3 separate regions of the Homo sapiens genome follow, and all the other regions are linked to region 2. Evidence: promoter capture Hi-C in 16 types of primary human blood cells and fetal thymus (Javierre and others, 2016). All regions are on one chromosome and are shown on one strand. The core of a region is centred on a gene start or on the middle of the fragment in contact, and the rest is flanking DNA. Distances in the headings are between cores, read along the strand shown. Region 1 overlaps PLEK2 (pleckstrin 2). Region 2 holds the start of RDH12 (retinol dehydrogenase 12). Region 3 has its middle 6.3 kb from the start of MIR5694.

What was found. The method cuts DNA at HindIII sites, captures the fragments that hold promoters and counts their contacts. A CHiCAGO score of 5 or more calls a contact.
Region 1: a contact is called between a fragment that was not itself captured here and the fragment with the promoter of RDH12 in region 2, in 1 of 17 cell types (naive B cells). The highest score is 5.0, in naive B cells.
Region 3: a contact is called between a fragment that was not itself captured here and the fragment with the promoter of RDH12 in region 2, in 15 of 17 cell types (naive B cells, total B cells, naive CD4 T cells and 12 more). The highest score is 10.9, in naive B cells.

The regions. Positions count from the first base shown.
Region 1 is chr14:67,392,063-67,396,246 of GRCh38, forward strand. It overlaps PLEK2 (pleckstrin 2), which reads right to left. Exons shown (of 9, transcript NM_016445.3): 3 at 3,340-3,521; 4 at 1,088-1,179; 5 at 600-787; 6 at 264-365. It also overlaps a transcript of GPHN not described here. Among named protein-coding and RNA genes, the nearest start is that of PLEK2, 18 kb to the right of the region's middle. The HindIII fragment of the contact is 1,862 bases long and covers 1,836-3,697 here.
Region 2 is chr14:67,699,842-67,703,667 of GRCh38, forward strand. RDH12 (retinol dehydrogenase 12) reads left to right here and starts at 2,045. Exons shown (of 9, transcript NM_152443.3): 1 at 2,045-2,094. It also overlaps a transcript of GPHN not described here. The HindIII fragment of the contact is 4,699 bases long and covers 1-3,826 here.
Region 3 is chr14:67,433,546-67,437,802 of GRCh38, forward strand. It overlaps a transcript of GPHN not described here. Among named protein-coding and RNA genes, the nearest start is that of MIR5694, 6.3 kb to the right of the region's middle. The HindIII fragment of the contact is 2,286 bases long and covers 514-2,799 here.

The DNA of each region.
Region 1 (4,184 bases), core at 1,517-4,016, 310 kb before region 2:
TTTGATGTTGTGATAATTGTGTGTGTGTGTAGTACATTTTTCCCGAACAGCCCTTGTGTCTGGTACACATGTGTGTGTGAGTGTGGGCATATGCCTGTTCTTTGACTTGCTCCTGGAGGCTGGTGCTGGGCTCTTGCTTTCGTAGATTTTGCTGTAATTGGTGCCCTCCAGCAGCCTCAGCCCTTCCCTTCTTCTGGGCTCACTGCTCCCTCCCCTAAGCTTGAGAACTGTCCATCTCTCTTCCCTGCTCATAGCAGCCATACCTGCTTGGCCAGGTAGCCTTGTTTCACCACCGTGCCACTTAACTCCACAGTGCTCAGGCTAATTTCTTCCTTGGGGCTTATCTTCTTTTTGTAGCTCTCAGCCTAGGGGGAAGGAGGGAGCAAGGACTCTGCTACAGAAAAGACCCAGGCCCAGGCTATGGCGGCTGTCAGAGGGGAAAGGAAATTCCTCAGGACAGGAACCTCATTCTGCATCAGGATGAAGTCGTCCCCCAAGCCCAAGGTCTCCTCCCATGACTGTGGCCCCCAGGCCCCCATTCTGTTGTGTCTTCCTTAACTTTTGCCCTGGTGGCAAGAAGAACCCACTCCCCAACTTACAAAAGTGTACAGGGCTGTGGAGTCATCCAGGAACTGCTCGGCCAGATCCCCAGAGCGAATGGCTCCCATGCTTCGGACACCCACAGGCCTGAGGAAGTTCTCCTCCATGAGCATGGAGGCCAGGGTCACCGCCTCCAGACGGCTGGCCGTGAAGCTGTTGGAGATGAGCCAGTCCACCAGGGAGGAGCCTGGCCAAGGGCAGCACCAGTCAGGCGATGGGTGATGGACCAGCGTCCTTGGGGTGTGTGGCCAATGACCTCACTGACCTTGGCCCTCTGGGCAGCCTCAGGGCTCTACGCAAGAGCAGACTGAAGGCCACACCTGCTGCATAGAGCCGTGGCTGCACACCCACACATGGCCATCTCAGGCTAGCCTGTTGCCCAGCAGGCAGCTCTGACCTCAATACAGGGCGGTCAAGCACACAGCTGAGCCCTGCATCACCATGTCCCAGCTTGACTGCCCAGCCCGGCCCTGGGGGACAGGCTCACCGAGGAAGGTCTTTTTATAGGTGCTTCCCTGCTCCATGTTGGGGCTTGAACGGATTCCGGTGTTGCTATCGTGCATCTTGTCCACAATGCGACTACATGGAAGGGAAGGCAAAGGAGAGGGAACCCTCATCACGCGGGCAGGTATAAGGGAGGGTCCTGAGTCACTGCTAAGGGTATAAAGCAAGTGGCAAATGGTGTGACACACATCACAAAGAAAAGGGGTGTAGGAAAGCAGCCTTTTGAATGGCAAGAGTGATGCCATCTTGAAGTGAAGCCGCCATGATGATTGATTTTTGTTGTTGTTGTTTTTTGTTTGTTTTTTGAGACAGAGTCTCGCTCCGTCACCCAGGCTGGAGTGCAGTGGCAAGATCTCGGCTAACTGTGACCTCCGCCTCCCAGGTTCAAGTGATTCTCCTGCCTCAACCTCCGGAGCAGCTGGGATTACAGACATTTGCCACCACACCTGGCTAATTTTTGTAGTTTTAGTAGAGATGGGGTTTCACCATGTTGACCAGGCTGGTCTCGAACTCCTGACCTCAAGTGATCCGCCTGCCTCAGCCTCCGAAAGTACTGGGATTACAGGTGTGAGCCACCGTGCCTGGCCTGATGATGGATGTTTGACTCCTGCATACCACGGTGTTCCCATAGCACGGCTCACCCCTCATAAAGATGTTTATCTAACCTCCCCAGTGGTCACAGGTTTCACAAGAAAGTCTGAGGCACCACTAGCTGCACATTTTCCCAAAAAAGCTTGCTATATAAAGGATATTTTCTGGAAGACAAGTGTGGTGATTCGCTGTCTCTAGGCCAGCAGGGACATCACTTCTGTTTGTAAGTCCCTATTAAATGCCTCTTTGTGAGAAACTGGAATTGTCAGCCTCTTTCTCCTGCCTCTCAGCTCCCCTTGCAGGTAGGTTTGTTTATACCTCCTCACCACAGAACAGGGTGTTCAGTTATGCCTCCAAATTTGAGAGGCAGGATTTTCAGACATTTCTTTTCTTCTCCTTATCTAAATGTTCTTATATTTCTATGCCAGACACACACTGCTTTTGTAGTAAAACCAAAGAGGTGTGACTTTTAACTTACAAACAAGAGTGTATGCTGGGCACAGTGGCTCATACCTGTCATCCCAGTGCTTTGGGATACTGAGGTGGGAGGATCACTTGAGCCCAGGAGGTCAAGGCTGCAGTGAGCCATGATCGAGCCACTGCACTCCAGCCCGGGCAACTGAGTGAGACCCTGTCCCCAAAAAAGAAAAACAAAAAAGCCCCAAGAGTGCACAGTAGCCCACATGGTTCTCTGTGATCCCCTGCATTAAGTCCAAACCCCCTCAGCTACTTTTCCAACTATCTTTAAACCCACCTGCCTACCCACCTTTATCTGCAGCTGATCCTCCCTGCACCCACCTAGACCCATAGGAGGTGTACAGTCAAGATTTCAGTGCCTGGTGGGGAGTTTTTGTGAGCCCAGGAATGGATTCATACATCTTTGATGGGTGTTAACAGTTCTTTTGCCTGGGAGGTTGGTGGAGATTTACTGTGGTTTGAATGTTTATCCCAAAACTCATGTTGAAAATCCCCAATGTGGCAATATTGAGAGGTGATGCCTTTAAGAGGTGATTGGGTCATGGGGGCTCTGCCCTTGTGAATGGATTAATGGGTTAAATGAATTAATGAATTATCATGGGAATGGGACTGGTGGCTTTATAAGAGGAAGAGAGATCGGAGCAAGCATGTTAGCATGCTCAGCCCCCTCACTGTGTGATGCCCTGCACTGCCTCAGGACTCTGCAGAGAACTCCCACCAGCAAGAAGGCCCTCACCAGATGCAGCCCCTCAACCTTGGACTTCCCAGCCTCTATAATGATAAGAAATAAATCCCTCCTTATGAGTTACCCAATTTCAGGTATTCTGTTATAAGTAACAGAAAACAGACTAAGACGAGATTTTGGGGGAGCTGTGACACAGCCCTGAGCACCCTGGCTGAAATGGAATGGGGGTCTTGTGTCATGGAGGTGTGCAGAGGTGGCAAGAGCCACGAGAGATCCCATAGGAATGGGGCAGGTAGGTAGGGCCACTCCCAAGCAGAGAAAATAATATACACAGGACAGGAACAGCTGAAGGCCCTGAAGCACCGTGGTGGCACCAGCCAGACTGTGCAGCAAGCACAGAGCCCCCCCAAGGGGCAGGGTCCCCTGCCCACCCAACACAGGCAGGAGAGGCTGCCACAGAGCCCGGCAAGTGGGGCACTCACTGCAGGCTGATGTGCGGGGGCAGCTTGAAGGAGTTTCTCAGGCTGTGCAGCTGCTGGACCTTCCCCGGCTGCCCTGCATGAATAGCCCCGGTGATCTCAAAGGCCCAGGCATCCCGCTCCTCTCGAGAACAGGCCTCCAGGAAGTACTCCGTGGATGTTTGAGTCTTCAGCTTAATGAGGAGCTGTGGGAAGAGAGAGCCAGTCAGGCCAGCACTCAGGCAGAGCAAGAGGACGCCGGGCAGCAAAAATGACGGGGCCCCGGGAGAATCTAGGTGACAGTGACTGCCAAATGCCCTGAGCCCTCGGCCACATAGCAGGTAGTCTTTAAAGATTCACTTGGACACCTCCAGTGACAGGAAGCTTGCGGCCTCACACTGCAGCCTTTCCCTTGTGGACAAGGTAGTTACTGTAGGGCCTGCCTCCTGGACACACTAGTTCTGTTCTCTCTTCTAGAACCACACAGATGAAGACTCACCTCCTATGACAGCCCCTACACTGAAGAGGGAAATGCCCAGGCTTTAAAATCAGTCCCATCTGAACACAAACCCCAGCTCTGCCACTTGGCTGTGGACTCCCGGGCACATTAGGAAATGACAGGATATTAATGCCTACCTCAAATGGCCTGTTAGTCATGCTCCCTTCCGTCCTCTTTCCTGTGTCTAAGCATCAAGTCTTTCACACATTTCTCATAGGATATAGTTTCAGCTCCTTCCCATCCAGGTCGCTTTGTTTTTTTGTTTTGTTTTGTTTTTTGTTTTTTTCTTGAGACGGAGTCTTGCTCTGTCGCCCAGGCTGGAGTACAATGGTGCAATCTCAGCTCACTGCAAACTCCGGCTCCCAGGTTC
Region 2 (3,826 bases), core at 795-3,294:
AAAGAATACTTGGATTTAGGCTGGGCGCGGTGGCTCACGCCTGTACTTCCAGCACTTTGGGAGGCCGAGGTGGGCGGATCATGAGGTCAAGACATCGAGACCATCCTGGCCAACATGGTGAAACCCCGTCTCTACTAAAAATACAAAAATCAGCTGGGCGTGGTGGTGCGCACCTGTAGTCCCAGCTCCTTGGGAGATGGAGGCAGGAGAATCGCTTGAACCTGGGAGGCGGAGGTTGCAGTGAGCTGAGATGATGCCACTGTACTGCAGCCTGGAGACAGAGCGAGAAAAAAAAAAAGGATACTTGGATTTAATTAAAATACAGGAAGAGTGTGTCCAGAGTTATGAGTGTACACTATATTTTTGAGGAAAGTAAACAAGGAAACTTGTATCTTAAGCAGGACAATAAATATGTCTCAGTAACAGCATCAAAAGTGCCCTGGTTATAGGAAATAATTTAGCTATATCGAGAAAAGCCAAGACTACAGAATCAAGTTATATTGGAGGAAAATGGTTTTGTTCCAGAGCTTTAAGATAAACATTTTAGCATCAGGCCACACCAGAGTTAGAACCAGAGAAAAAGATTACAGAAGGCCGGGCACAGTAGCTCACGCCTGTAATCCCAGCACTTTGGGAGGCCGAGGTGGGCAGATCACGAGGTCAGGAGATCGAGACCATCCTGGCTAACACGATGAAACCCCGTCTCTACTAAAAATACAAAAAATTAGCCGGGCGTGGTGGCGGGCGCCTGTAGTCCCAGCTACTCGGGAGGCTGAGGCAGGAGAATGGCGTGAACCTGGGAGGCGGAGCTTGCAGTGAGCCTAGATCGCGGCACTGCACTCCAGCCTGGGTGACACAGCAAGACTCCATCTCAAAAAAAAAAAAAAAAATTACAGAAGTTGGCTGGGCATGGTGACTCATGCCTGCAATCCCAGCACTTCGGGAGGCCGAGGCGGGTGGATCAGCTGAGGTCAGGAGTTTAAGACCAGGCTGGCTAGAATGATGAAACTCTGTCTCTACTAAAAATACAAAAATTAGCTGGGCACGGCGGCGAATGCCTCTAATCCCAGCTACTCGGAGGCTGAGGCAGGAGAATCACTTGAACCTGGGAGGCGGAGGTTGCAGTAAGCGGAGATCTTGCCACTGCACTCCAGCCTGGGTGACAAGAGCAAAATTTCATCTCAAAAAAAAAAAAAAAAAAAAAAGTCAAAGATTACAGAAGTTGACAAAAAGGTTGAAGGAGAGGATTATCATTTCAACCAAGAAAAACATGTATCTTTTTAAGGGTATAAAGAACGAACAACAACGATTCATGACTTGGGAATCATGTGCAGCGAGGTATAGCACAAGTAGAATTTTTTGAGATATAAATTTGAGAAGTTTTAGAAAAGAAATAGATTGTAGAATTTAAAATCAAAAGCTCTTGTAATTCACTAAGAGCAAATTTATACTTTAAGACAATGTTATTTTAACATAGAGGACCAAAATCTCAATCTTTAGAAACACTTATAACTTTTTTTTGATTATAGCCAACTTAATCACATATACATTTAAAAAAATTTTAAAGAACTTTATTATAATTTCTTTTTTTTTTTTTTTTTTTTTTGAGATGGAGTCTGTTGCCCAGGCTGGAGTACAGTGTCACTATCTTGGCTCACTGCAAACTCCGCATTCCAGGTTCAAGTGATTCTCCCGCCTCAGCCTCCCGAGTAGCTGGGACTACAGGCATGCGCCACCATACCTGGCTACTTTTTGTATTTTTAGTAGAGATGAGGTTTCACCATTTTGGCTGTGCTGGTCTCGAACTCCTGACCTTGTGATCCGCCCACTTCAGCCTCCCAAAGTGCTGGGATTACAGGCATGAGTCACCACGCCAGGCCTATTATGATTTCTGTAGACTATTTATGACATGTTTGAACTTTTGTTTTGCCCTACCCTTTCTCTTTTATAATTAACCTGTCATTTTGCTTTAGGAAAATAATTTACCATGTAATAAATTATTATCATGCAGTGGCATGATCAGCTCATCGTAACCTCAACTCCTGGGCACAAGCAATCCTCCCTTCTCAGCTTCCTGAGTGGCCAGGACTACAGGTAAGTGCCACCATGCCAGACTAATTTTCAAAATTTTTGTAGAGACAGTATCTCACTGTGTTGTAGAGACAGTGTCTCACTATGTTGCTTAGGCTTGTCTTGAACTCCTGATCTCAAATGATCCACCTGCCTTGGCCTCCTAAAGCATTAGGATAACAGTCATGAACCACTGTGCCCAGCTTTTTTAAAAATTTAATATATATATATTTTTTAAATGGAGATGAGATCTCATTATGTTGCCCAGGCTGGTCTCAAACTCCTGAGCTCAAGTGATTCTCCCACCTTAGGGTCCCAAAGTGCTAGGATTACACACATGAGCCACCATGCCTGGCCTGTGCTCAGTTTTTTAAGTTTTTTTCTATTAACCATTTTTATAGCCTGTGAATGTCAGATATTTACCTAAGCAAGAAATTTAAAGTTAAATACATGGGTATTTTGTTGATAACTCAGAAGGTTTAGCTGTATTTCTTAAACCAACAATATTAAATTAGTCTTACTTATAAAAAAAATCACACAAAGATTATTTTGGTTTTGGCTGGGTTCATAGTTTTTTACCTTTGTGCCAAATCCTGACCCTGTAAAATATTTAATAAGACAAGTATAAATCTGACCATAAATCTAGGCAAATATGTATGTTGACAATTTTGAAGACATTTTAATATTTATTTTACTAATAATTTTAAAGCCAGTTTATTTATTAAAGAATTACTTAAGTCATGTGAACTTGGAAAACCTTTGGGCTTACTAATTTATGAGTGCTCATTTATCTATAAGTCAATTGGGTATCATGTAGATACAACATATAACATATTACATGTATATATGTAAACACATCTAAACACACATATATATGCACAAATAGAGATCTTATACCTTTATTTTTTGATTTGTCTTTTGAAACAGGGCCTCACTCTGTTGCCCAGGGTAGAGAGCAGTGGTATGACCATGGCTCACTGCAGCCTGGACCTCCCAGGCTCAAGTGATTCTCCCACCTCAGCCTCCTGAGTACCTGGGACTACAGGTGCGTGCCGCCATGCCCAGCTAACTTAAAAAAGTTTTTTTTTTGTAGAGTCAGAGTCTCACTATGTTGCCAGGGCTGGTCTTGAGCTCCTGGGCGCAAATGATCCTCCTACCTTGGCCTCCCAAAGTGCTGGGACTGCTGGCATGAGTCACCTCATCTGGCCCTTATAGTTTTCATTTTAGAATTTTAGTCATGAGATAGTAATACAAACTCACCAGTTTATAAAAGATAGTTGGATCTAAATTATTTTTGGAAAAAATTGGGACCTGTTAGTTCACATGGCTAAATTTTATTTGTCCCAATAGGTAATCTAATGAAGGCTGTGAGCCAAAATTTTTGGGTAAGGTAGTTCGATGGCAGTTTTATTTTAAAAATCTTTTATCCTTTTATTCAGTTTCAAATGAGTTTAGAGTTAGGTTTTTAATGTTAACATTTTAGCTTGAACTGGCTGAATCGTATAAGAAAAACAAAATTTCTAAGTCTTCTTAAGTTAGTAATACTATAAACAGTGAGCTTTATCTCAACACAAGTAGAAAAGTCAGTAGTTTCAAAGTAGGCAGAAAAAATATATAGAGGTAGACAGAGAACTTAGACGATCCTACATGTTAACTCTGTAGTTCTGGGTGGACCACTTGAGTTCTAATCTGTCTATTATTTTAAGATGTGCACAACAATGGGCCATAATATGTATCTAGCTGGAGTCTCAGAAAA
Region 3 (4,257 bases), core at 407-2,906, 270 kb before region 2:
AAATGAGACGCATCCTATAATTCAACAACAACAACAACAACAAACCCATTAAAACTCATCGGGAGTATGAATGGACAAAATATCAAAAAAATTTTTGTGGGGGAAAAAGAAGGAGGAGGGTAAACTTAAAAAAGCAGTCATCACTATATTTCACTGGGGTAAAGACAAGAAAAGTTGGCCAGGGTAATAGAAGAGACATACTCTACAGAAACAAATTCAAGCTATTTAAAGACTTGATATAAGATGAATAAGCATCAACACAATGCTACAAGAAAGAATCACTGTTTAACAAATATCGTCTAAGTGGGTCATAAAAAGCCAGAGAAAATGGGAAAGCAAATGTGTTTCCACTGTGATGAGAAGAAAACATTTTGACTATTGATGAAATTAGATATCAGAGACAGGATGGACGGATCTAAATGTGTTTTTAAAAGCCTTTTGTGCCACAGAATGTAATAAAGCAAACACAAAAATGAAAGCCACAGATGGGGGAGAAATATATGTGGCAAATTAAGCTTTCTATCCAAAATAGCTAAAGAACAGATCTAACTATAAAAGGCCAGTATCCTGCTCCTTTTTGATAAGTACTCAAAGGAAATGAGCAGAGAGTTTACACACAATACTTCACATAGAAAAATAGGCAGCCCCACCATGTATCTTGAATTTGCAATTTCAGTGAATTTTATAATGTTATAAAAATTAATATAAATGATAAAACAATGTTTGATTGTTCAAATTCCCTGGATGCTAATTTGGCAAAACCTACAAAACAGTTCCTATCCTTTGATTCCATAATCCTAATTCTAAGGAAGTAGCTAAAGAAAACAGTTAGAACAAAGTCATTTCTACAAAGTGTTTGCTGCAGTATTATTCAAATAGAAAAAACAGAAACTAACCACTTGCACAGTGATTTCTAAATCAGTGTTTCTTAAAATGGGGCTGAAGGACTGTCTATATCAGAGAAGAATCGCTGATGGGAGCCTGGGAGTATTCATTTTATCAAGAAGGTCAGTTTATGAAACCACACTAAAGTTCGAGAGCCACTAGACTCTAAGCAAACCACAGACCATGAGAACATTTGGAGGACTAAAGAATGTTTCAGGTAACAGACCTGTTCATGCATAGAGGTGGGAAGAAGGAATAATGATGACAGCAGAGAGAACACCAAACCCTACAGGCAGTGTCTTGGTCCGTGTTTTGTTGCTTATAACAGAATATCTGAAACGGGGTAATTTATAAAGAAAAGGGATTTATTTTGTACTGTTATTGAGTTGAGAAGTCCAAGGTCCAGGGGGTGCATCTGGTGAGGGCCTTCTTGCTGGTGGGAACTCTCTGCAGAGTCCTGAGGTGGTGCAGGGCATCACATGCTGAGGGGGTGAGCATGCTAATGTGCTAGCTCAGGTCTCTCTTCCTCTTCTCTCTCTCTTTTTTTTTTTTTTGAGATGGAGTCTCACTCTGTCACCCAGGCTGGAGTGCAATAGTGCCATTTCGGCTCACTGCAGCCTCCTCCTCCTGGGTTCAAGCAATTCTTCTGCCTCAGCCTCCTAAGTAGCTGGGATTATAGGCACCCGCCACCATGCCTGGCTAATTTTTGCATTTTTAGTAGAGATGGGGTTTCACCAAGTTGGCCAGGCTGGTCTCAAACTCCTGACCTCAGGTGATCCACCTGCCTCAGCATCCCAAAATGCTGGGATTACAAGCCTGAGCCATCACGCCCAGCCTTTTCCTCTTCTTATAAAGCTACCAGCTCCACTCCCATGATAGCCGGTTAGTCCGTTAACCCATTAATCTATGAATGGATTAACCCATTCATGAGGGCAGAGCTCTCATGATCCAATCACCTTTTAAAAGCCCCTCCTCTCAATACTGCCACATTGGGGATTAAGTTTCAACATGAATTTTGGAGGGGACATTCGAACCATAGCAGGCAGCAACAGCCCCTGTCTGAGATGCCCACAGGGCAGTGGCCACAACAGGGTATGGCGGCTAAAGTCATTGGAGTGTTGTAACACTGTGCTTTGTTTAAAAACTCATTATGGTCATACAAGTTTTCTTTTATTTATCAAAGTCCCAGGGAGGTCACTGGAAGCAATAACAGAGCACCTACAAAGAATCTCCAGAACGCTTGCCTCAAGTCATCCTTTTCTGGATGTCACTCCTTCCCTTTCTCTGTCTTGCACTCCCAGTCCCTGGGTGACTAACAGGACCTTTCTGCCTTCAACTCTGCCCAAGGCCTCCCATCCCATAAGCATCACCCCGCTGTGTCCTTGGCCACGTCCATTGGTGGTGCCAGCGGGTGGAGGTGTTGTCCTGTCCTTAGGACAGTTCACTGACCACACATTTTTGCATCAAATAAGGGGGAAAAAGAGCTTAGCAGGCAGTCTACTGGAGACTGCGGATGGTTAAGTATTTGCTTTTGAGGATGGGGAGGCAAGGCAGGTCTGATGGGATGTGTTGCTAAAGCAATTGTGAGCTTCTCTGGCTCCCAGAGGGCTTACTTCCCTTAGGGCTGATTCCCGAGGCACAGAAATGCCACCGTAGCTCTACTTCCCACAGAAGCCTCTTTACTGGAAACTACTGATCCATTCTTGCCTGGAGTCTTGGGGCTTCTTGCCAGTATCTGTGAATGTCACAGGATACTACTGTCCAGCCAAGGTTGGCCAACCTCCTCCAAGAAGCCTGGGCAAATGCCCAGGATGCCAGGCCAGTAGGCGCCTGTGTGGGAGGGGAGAGTTCACTCTATACCATGGAGTAGCTGGGGGATATTGGGGTAGCCAGGCCTAGCCCAGCAACATATCAAGCTTTTATTCGTTGCTTTCTGCAGCCGTAAGGGAGAATACAAAGTCCTCCTTTCAAACTAGCACATCTGTTCCCTGGCCCTGCAATACCAGCTCTCACCCCTTCCTGGCTCTCTCACAGCTGCCCCCTCTAGGTGGTACCCAGTCTTCTGCAGCCTTGCATGGTTCAGCCGAGGGAGCCCCTTTCCATATGGAGACCAGGCAGGGGAGAGTTTCTTCAGGACACCAGAGTGGGCATTAGGGAACTGTTAGTCTGCTCCCAGCCTCCATCTGGCACCCGATAATCTCACTGCCACGCCCAGTCCTTCCACAAGTTCCTCCCATAGGGTCAGAATCCAGCCCAGAGAGCAGGTTCCCAGACCTCTGTGCAGTGAGCTGCCCTCTGGAGGGAGAGAGGAGAGGAGAGAAATGGCAGAGAAGACACCAGGCAGGCCAGGCGCTGTGGCTCACGCTTGTCATCCCAGCACTTTGGGAGGCTGAGATGGGAGGATCACATGAGCCCAGGAATTTGAGACCAGCCTAGGCAACAGAGTGAGACCCCATCTCTACAAAAAATTAAAAATATTAGCCAGGCTTGGTGGCACACACCTGTAGTCCCAGCTACATGGGAGGTTGAGGTGGGAGAATCACTTGAACCCAGAGGCCAAGGCTGCAGCGAGCCATGATTGCACCACTGCACTCCAGCCTAGGTGATGCAGCCAGACCCTGTCTCAAAAAAACAAACAAACAACAACAATAAAAAGGCACCTGGCAGATGGCTGGCATCCTGTTGTGACTTATATAATAGACCTTTCTTTCATCTTTAATCCCAAAGTACTTCTTGAGTGCCTACCTATGTGTGAAATGCTGTGCTGGGAAGCTACAATCATGAACAGACAGACATGATCCTGCCTTCGTGGAACTTGCAGTCCATGGTGGGGAGGCAAAAAATAAACAAGTGAGCAAAGTCACAAAATGATGTGAAATTGTAGTGAGTACGCAGAAGGAAATACACAGGTACAGCGATGGGAAATAAGTGGGCTTCTGCTTCAGATAAGATGGTCAGGGAAGGCTGAGCTGAGCCTGGTTGGAGGGGTGGGCAGCGGCCAGATTAGGCAGACCAAGTTAGGAGATTTCCATTTTTGTCTGAGTCTAATGGGAAGTGATTGGAGGGCTCTAAGCAAGTGACACGGTCTGATTTCAATGTCCAAACCTCACGGCGGCTGTACGTCTGAGAATAGGCTGTGCGGGCAGCCGTGGGAGGAAGGAGAGCAGACAGGAGCCTCTCTAGCATCCAGGGGGAAGAGGATGCTGGCTGGGACTTGCTGGAGGAGGGGGGAGAGAGAGGTGGGAGGAAATGAGATGTATTTGGGAGGTTGTACCTAGAGGACTTACTGATGGGCTGGAGTGAGGAAGAGGAAACAGGCCTGAATCCCAGATTTCTAGCTTGAGCAACCCAAAGACGGGTGGTACCATTTAC